Linked DNA regions of Homo sapiens: region 1 is linked to region 2. Evidence: promoter capture Hi-C in 16 types of primary human blood cells and fetal thymus (Javierre and others, 2016). All regions are on one chromosome and are shown on one strand. Each heading gives the region's core, a stretch centred on a gene start or on the middle of the fragment in contact. The rest is flanking DNA. Distances are from core to core; before and after follow the strand shown. Region 1 has its middle 23 kb from the start of PTP4A1. Region 2 holds the start of SCAT8 (S-phase cancer associated transcript 8).

Region 1 (4,214 bases), core at 1,700-4,199, 210 kb before region 2:
TATCACACTTAGAAATGAACAATAACTGCTTAATATAATCAAGTATCCAATGTATCTAATCACTGCTCAAGTTTCTTTATCTCATTTTTTTTAAGTTTATTCAATTTAGGATTCAAATAATTTCCATACATTGCAACTGGTTGGTATATTTCTTTTATAGGTTCTTTCTCAATTTTTTTTTGCAATTTATTTGTTGAAAAAATTGGGTTGTTTGTCCTGTAGATATCCTATATTCTAGATTTTGCTGACTGCATTCACAGGGTGGATTTTTTTATGTATATATTTTTAAAAACTTTTTTCTCAAATGGATTCTGACAGTTCAATGGTGCTATTGAACATGCTCCTCTCTCTTGTATTTTCTGTAAATTGGTAATGACAGAGACTTGTTCAGATTAAGAGTTTTTTGTCTGCTTGATAATATTGCATTGTAGGTGGCACTTTTATTAGGAGGCACATAGTGTTAGATAGCTCCTTTTTGGGAATTTTTTTTTTCCGAGTTGGAGTTTTGCTCTTGTTGCCCAGGTTGGAGTGCATTGGTGCGATCTCAGCTCACTGCAACCTCTGCCTCCCGGGTTCAAGTGATTTTCCTGTCTCAGCCTCCTGAGTAGCTGGGATTACAGGTGCCCATCACCACGCCCAGCTAATTTTGTATTTTTAGTGGGGGTTTCATCATATTGGTCAGGCTGGTCTCGAACTCCTGACCTCAGGTGATCCACCCGCCTCAGCCTCCCAAAATGCTGGGATTACAGGCGTGAGCCACCACACCTGGCTTCCCCTCATTATCTATATGCATACAAGAAAGGCAGAATAAATGTATGATATGTGTTCTTTATCAGATTTCAAAATAATGAGTTGGTTTCCTTCTGTGCCCTGAAGATGATCAGTAGGGTTTTTTAAAGCATCATTATGAATTTATGGCTTTAAACATATTTGTTGCACTTTAATCTATTGCAATAGATTAATCCATTATTCATATTAGTGGTCAAATCATCCTGTCTTTGAACAGTGGCAGCTTCTTCAAGTTGGCACCATGTGTTTTTGATATGATCCCAGTAGAATTGATCATTTCTTTGCTTTTTATTATGACATGATGATTTAGCCTCATCATATACTTATTCTGGTCCATATCTAGAATCAGTCATTCCTCCAAGAAGCATCAATTCCATTTATTTGGAAATGGTATTTATAACACAGTCTGCGTAATACATGTTATTTTTACTGGGTTGGTCATTATCTCCAGGTCTTTTCAGTGGACAAAGGTAAAAAAAATACTTTTAAAAAAGAAGCATAACCACAAAAAAGAATGAAATCATATCCTTTGCAGCAATGTGGGTGGAGCTGGAGGTCATTATCATAAGTGAACTAACTCAGAAACAGAAAACCAAACACTACATGTTCTCACATATAAGTAGGAGTTAAACAATGGGTACATATGGACATAAAGATGAAAATTATAGACACTGAGGACTCCAGAAGAGGGGAGGGTGGGAAGGGAGCAAGGGCCGAAAAATTACCTTTTGGGTACAATGTTCACTATTTGGGTAATGGGTAAACTAGAAGCCCAATATCCACCAATATACCCACATAGCAAGCATGCACCATATCCTCTGAATCTAAAATACAATTTTTTTTTTTGAGACAGAGTTTTGCTCTTGTTGCCGAGGCTGGAGTGCAATGGCGTGATCTTGGCTCACTGCAACTTCAGCCTCCCGGGTTCAAGCAATTCTCTGCTTCAGCCTACCGAGTAGCTGGGATTACAGGCATGCACCACCACGCCTGCCTAATGTTTTTGTTTTTTTAGTAGAGGCAGGATTTCGCCATGTTGGTCAGGCTGGTCTTGAACTCCTGACCTCAGGTGATCCACCTGCCTCGGCCTCCCAAAGTTCTGGGATTACAGGCATGAGCCACCTCGCTCGGCCAATAAAATACAATTTTAAAAAAGAAAACTACATTTTGTATGACTTTATCTATATGAAATGTCCAGAACAGACAAATCTATGGACACAAAAAGTAGATGGTGTTTGCCTAGGAATGGTGAAAGTGAAGGAACATGGAAGAGGGCGGCCGTGATGGCTAAGAGATGCAGAATTTCTTTTCGGGGTGATGAAAATATTCTAATATTGATTGTGGTGGTGGTTACACAACTTTGTGAATATTGTGGGAGACATTGAGTTGTACACTGTAAATGGACGAACCATACAGTATGTGAATTATACCTCAGTAAAGTTGTTTTAAAAATTCCAATGGCAGAATCAAGATAATTTTTTAAATTATCTATTTTGGATGTACATACTCCACATGATCTGAATATTTCTATGCTTTTGCAATAATTTTAAATGAAAGGAGAATGAAGGAAATGCCTAACTTTTCAAATAGTTTGTAAATTAATCTAACACATTTGCATTTTAGAGAACATCATAATGACTTTTCTATACAAGTTAATCTGAAATTCATGAAATAGACACAAATTCTGTATCCATGCACAAAAGTGAAGATAAGAAATAAGACAATTTTCAGGAACATTCCCTTAAACATTCTCCTCTGATTTAACCTGGCTTGCCTTACCATGGCAATAGAGAAATCACTAAAACATGCTGTTTAACAGGAAAAAAGTCTCTCAATTTCTGTGAGGAGTGATGTATGATTCTGATCTCTCCTAAGGGTAAATATTATAATATTATATCAAAAAATTATGTAATTATAAGCAAAAGTGGCAGAAAGAAAGTCAGAGTTTAAGAAGTAAGTGCATTATACTGGCCAGGCATGGTGGCTCACTCCCGTAATCCCAGCACTTTGGGAGGCTGATGTAGGCAGATGGCTTGAGACCAGGAGTTCAAGACCAGCCTGGGCAACATGGCAAAACCCCTCTCTACAAAAAATACAAAACTTAGATGGGCATGGTGGTCTGTGCCTATAGTCCCAGCTATTATGGAGGCTAAAGTGGGAGGACAGCTTGAGCCTGGGAGGCAGAAGTTGCAGTGAGCCAAGATTGCAACACTGTACTCCAGGCTGGGCGATAGAGGGAGATCCAGTCTCAAAAAATAAGTGGAAAAAAATAAGTGCACTATAAAGATAATTAAACTGTAGTATAAAATAAACTATACTGAGACTGGGTGCTGTGGCTCATGCCTGTAATCCCAACAATTTGGGAGGTCAAGGCAGGCAGATCACTTGAGGTCAGGAGTTCGAGACCAGCCTGGCCAACATGATAAAACCCCATCTCTACTAAAAATACAAAAATTAGCTGAGCATGGTGATGTGCAACTGTAATCCCAGCTACTCAGAGAGCTGAGCCTTGAGAATCGCTTGAACACAGGAGGGGGTGGTTGCAGTGAGCTGAGATCCTTGCCACTGCACTCCAGCCTGGGTGACAAAGTGAGACCCTCTCTCACAAAAAAAAAAAAAATTAATTATAATGAAAATACAAAAAAAAAATAATGTTACAATATCATACTGATACTTCCAACTCAAATTCAGAACTACAGGGATTTTTTTAAAGATTTTAATTGTTTTTAATTGACAATTATATATATTTGTGGGGTACAATGTGATGTTTTGATATATCTACGTATTGTAAAATGATTAAATTAAGCTAATTAAATCCATCACCTCACATACTTACCATTTTTTGTGGTATATTTAAAATTTGCCCTGTTAGCAATTTTGAAAGATACATTATTAACTATAGTCACCATGCTGTGCGATATATCTCAAAAACATGTTTTCTAACTGAAACTTTGTACCCTTTGACCATCTCTCCATGTTCCCACCCCCATAATTAATTATATTAATCATGCAATTAATTATATAATTAATTATATTAATCATGCAATTAATTATATAATTAATTATATTAATCATGCAATTAATTATATAAGTAATTAAATAAGGCTAATTCATTAGGTGCCCCACAAAGGAATAGTTATTTCTTGAGCTCTGTGCCACGTGGTTTAGTAGCTCATTCAGAATGGCTTTACTTCCAGTAACTAAGGAATAGAGAATAGCTGTTGTATTATTATTCCTAGATTTAGTCAAATAACTTGTTTAAACTCTGGTAACTCTTAGTGATGTTAGATGATGAAAATCAAGTGGGAAATTTAGTCATATTTCCATCTATTCCATCGGTCATGCTTGAATGAGATAATTTGGATGAATAAATCTTGATTGCCAATCCCTCAGCATTTCTACCTTCTTCCTTATACAGAACACTGATT
Region 2 (4,233 bases), core at 524-3,023:
ACAGTCACTGATTGAGTTGAAAAAAACAGAATATGTTATTTACCCTAGCACCGTAGAACCACTGACAGCTGAGAGAAAGGTCTTTTTCTGTTACAATATGTTGATCTCACAGATGAAAACACTGAACTCAGAGAAGTTAGGTGATTAATTGCTTAACTGTTGATTGCAGACTTAAAAGTAAAACATAGGTAATTTTCCTTGACTTAGCACATGCATAACTAGTTTCTACTTAAGAGAGACAAATGTAAGTTATAAGTTGATTTCCCACCAATTCCAGGGCACTAGAGTACTTTGTTACAGGCTGAGTACTTTCTTAATTTCTTGCTCCTTTAATTTAGAATGGTTTTCTTTGAGGGCAACAACCATTTCCATTTTATAACACATGGAAAAATGAGAATTTCCCTTCTCTCTTCAGACATGGAAACAGAAAGAAACAGAGGAAAGGACAAATCAATAAACTTACTTCCCATGTGACTTGGTCACCTTCCCTGTCCTCATGTTTGCCTGTAGGAATTTTTTCTTTTGATTATGAAAGGTAGCTGATATGGTTAGGTTTTGTGTTCCCACGCAAACCTCATCTTGAATTGTAATCCCCATAATCCCCAGGTGTCAAGGGAGAGACCAGGTGGAGGTAATTAAATCATGGGGGTGGTTTTCCTCATGCGTTCTCGTGATAGTGAGTGAGTTCTCAGGAGATCTGATGGTTTTATAAGGAGAAATTCTCCCCTTTACTAGGCACGTCTTCCTGCTGCCTTGTGAAGAAAGTACTCTGCTTCCTCTTCCCCTTCCACCATGCTTGTAAATTTCCGGAGGCCTCCCCAGCCATGCTGAACAGTGAGTCAATTAAACTTCTTTCCTTTGTAAATTACCCAGTCTCTGGCAGTTCTTTACAGCAGCATGAAAACTGACTAATACAGTAGCCCTGATGCAAAGTAGAGCTTCAGAAAGGATCAGGGAACTGCTAAGTACTTTGGACTACAGCGAACATGCTCAAGGCAGAAAACAGGAGGAGGCTGCATCTAGGCAAAGGTCTTTTTTTTACCACAGCCAATTAGAGTGTCCCTGAGGAATCTCTAAAGTATTCTTAAAGGAGCGAGGCAAGTCCTAGAGGGTTCAGTTAATCTTACCATGGCCTTTCTGTCCAGTAAAAAATATCAAGTTATTTTGCAGTGCTGAGTGGTTGTTTGCCAGCTGAAACTTCAGGTGGAATTCATAATGGAAGCTGATGTCTGAGATCCGTGAATAAGCCAGGAATGAGGTGTATCCAAAGGCATCTGTGCCACTGAACCTTGGCTGAGTAATATTAATAGCTGTGAAAAAACCCAAACCAAACAGTTAAAATAAACCTGTACATGTATTTGTAAAGTGAGGGTTACGTTTTGCTGATGCATCTGGCCAGATAGTCTGTTTACTATTACATTAATTATACTTTAGTGCCCTTCAGCATTGAGCAACTAAGTGACTCAACAGGAAATTTCAAAACCAGAACAAAGGAAATGCAGTGTTTTGAGATCTTCTATATAATCCTTTCACTAGCATACTCTTTCTACATAATGGATAATTTACTTAAAAAGCAAACCCCTATATTTTGAAACTTAATTTTAGAAATAGAAAAGATTACTGGCAGCCAAACAAAGTATTTACTCAGGTGCCTCGTAAACATGATTTGGCATCCAAAACCTGGATATGACTTAGAGAGGAGCTCACACCTTTGAACAAACTGTGCTTTTCTAATCCTGCACCTTTATCTGAGCCAAAGCCCCAGGTCAGGGCTAGGAAAGTCAAGAAATAGGAAGGAAATCGGTCAGTTTTCTATCATCATTGGTGAGTGACCAGAGCTTTTCTTTAAGTAAAAATAATTGTCTAAAAGAAATGTTCATTATTTCTTTGCTGAGATGCTTCTTAAGTAATAAAAACATGGAATTCAATTGGTGTGAAAGTGTAGGGAGATTTATTAAAAACAGGAAATGGTAAAATTAGATGAAGTTCAAGGGCCAGTGTGAACAAAATAGAATTTAACTGAGGGTTGCTTCTTGTATCGAACTCTTCTCTTTCATTGTACTGTTTCCTTCATAAGTCTCCACTGGTTTTTTAAATCTCCTTACCCAAAGAGGACAACAGAAAATAGAAAGGGGATTTTGACACCCCATTCCTGTCTTTTATGGATGATGTCACCAGATTAAGGGATGTTCCTAGGATCTATTTTTATTGGTTGGGGACAGCTCGGTTGAGGAAATAAGAGCTTATGTTGTTTCCTTCTCAAGAGATGTTGGAACTCCAGGGAAGCTGTAAAATTAGAATTTTTACAAGCCTTAAGAAATATACTCACTCTGGTATGTAACACTTAAAAGAGCTTCTTATGTCTGTTTATAATTGTGTATACAGCAAATAATTTAGGAAAAATGATGCTTATTATCAAAGGCTTGTATATCTTTGTTTTATATGACTATTAAACTAAGATATTTGTGTGAATAAACTGAATACTTTGTTTTGATATTTTATTAAAATCTTATCAGTTTATTATGACTATTAAACTAAGATATTTGTGTGAAGCTGAATACTTTGTTTTGATATTTTATTAAAATCTTATCAGTTTATTCCCTGGGATGTGTGGCATAGGTTAAATGTAATTTTCTCAAAACTCACCAGAATGTGAAGTAGGGACTTTTGAGACATATTGCTTCTTATACTTATTTTTTAATCTAATGAAAACTTTATAATTTGTGTCCCTGAGATAATAACACTCTCAGGTATATCACTTTCAGTAGTACTATGGGGAGGGTGATTGAGGGAAATGAAATGTACTGGAGTTGAAACAGAATAAAAATACTGACCATCATTCAATGTTGGCATTAAAAACTATGAAAATAGAATTCAGTTAAATTTAATACTAAAATAGAAAAGGAATGACTATCTTTTGCTTTTAATATTTCTTCCTGTTAATAATTTACAACTGAGTCTACCTAAAGGTTACATTTAGGCTAGATTGACAAATACGTATCTCATATATATGGTATTTTACTGTCAGAACCTGTGCTAGATGCTGGTGACACAAAGATAAAAAAGCACTAGTCACTCAAGGGATTAGTGTGAAGTCAATACATTTATTCAGCTGAACTGGACTGAAAGTTGAGGCCTGGTATAAGAACTTTCAGGCAGAAGAAACAGCATGTTCTAGGGTGTGAAGACCAAAACAGCATGTCATACTCAGGGAACTTATGAAGTCTGCAAATTTTAGAATGAAGAAGAAAAGTGAGAGTGGAAGGAAATGAAACAAGATAGACAGTGGTCAAATCATGAAGAACTATATATTTTCTTTATTATCCTAAAGTAGTTGGGCAATGATCAAAGTTGCTTTTTAGAAATATTATTCTGTTGATGAAGTGTGAATCATAGATTAGACAGAGAGCTGGAGGACCAAACTTTGGTCAAGGATGAAAATAAGAACTTTGATATCAAGAAATCTAACAATGAATTAAGCTTATGCAGAAATCTAAATGTAAGGCAATTTATGAGTAACTCATTAAGGCAATGGTGTGATATTTAAACAGCTAATGGAAATACATTATCAGTGCAATTTCATGATATAATTTTTACTATCAAAAATAAGTACTTTTGAAGTTTGAGAATAATAATGAAGACTGATGATAACCATGACCCATAGGAATGGATCTGTCAAATGCTCAGCATTTCTTAGTCTAGTGGTACCTGCAGCTGTTGAGCATTTGAATTGTGGTTAGGCCTGTGTGGGAAGGGCTCAGTATGAAACAAAGAATGTAAAATATATTATTAATAACATTCCCATATCCGTTAAACATTGGGTTAAATAAAATATATTACTAAAATAAATTTCACCTGTTTCTTTTAACTTTGAAAAATGTCGCTACTAGAAAACAAAATGACATAGGCAGCTCACATTCTATTTCTATTGAATGGCAACGCAGAGAGATCCAAGCATGTTTTGATAGGTTAAGTTCTTCCTCTAAACCGTTAGTTGTGACTTACTTCAAGGGGCTTTTTCTTTTGGTAACTTTGAACCTATAAAAAGGTAGGGCCTCTGTGGGGAGCAATAGGAATCAGGAGAAGAGGTCAAAGATAATATAATCCATCACTAAGAGGCTTCTATGTCTGCACCCACACTGTCTCTATAACTCTGAATTAGGCAGAAGAACGTGAGGGACTCAGACTAGGAGAAAGAAGACTTTCAACCTTACAAATCATTCTTTTCAATAC

What was found. The method cuts DNA at HindIII sites, captures the fragments that hold promoters and counts their contacts. A CHiCAGO score of 5 or more calls a contact.
Region 1: a fragment that was not itself captured here is called in contact with the fragment with the promoter of SCAT8 in region 2 in 3 of 17 cell types (monocytes, M1 macrophages and M0 macrophages); the score reaches 8.6 in monocytes.

The regions. Positions count from the first base shown.
Region 1 is chr6:63,593,689-63,597,902 of GRCh38, forward strand. No RefSeq gene overlaps it. Among named protein-coding and RNA genes, the nearest start is that of PTP4A1, 23 kb to the left of the region's middle. The HindIII fragment of the contact is 7,361 bases long and covers 1-4,214 here.
Region 2 is chr6:63,805,063-63,809,295 of GRCh38, forward strand. It overlaps SCAT8 (S-phase cancer associated transcript 8), which reads left to right and starts at 1,774. Exons shown (of 2, transcript NR_157848.1): 1 at 1,774-1,824. EYS (eyes shut homolog) reads right to left here. Exons shown (of 43, transcript NM_001142800.2): 37 at 1,128-1,310. The HindIII fragment of the contact is 5,141 bases long and covers 1-3,478 here.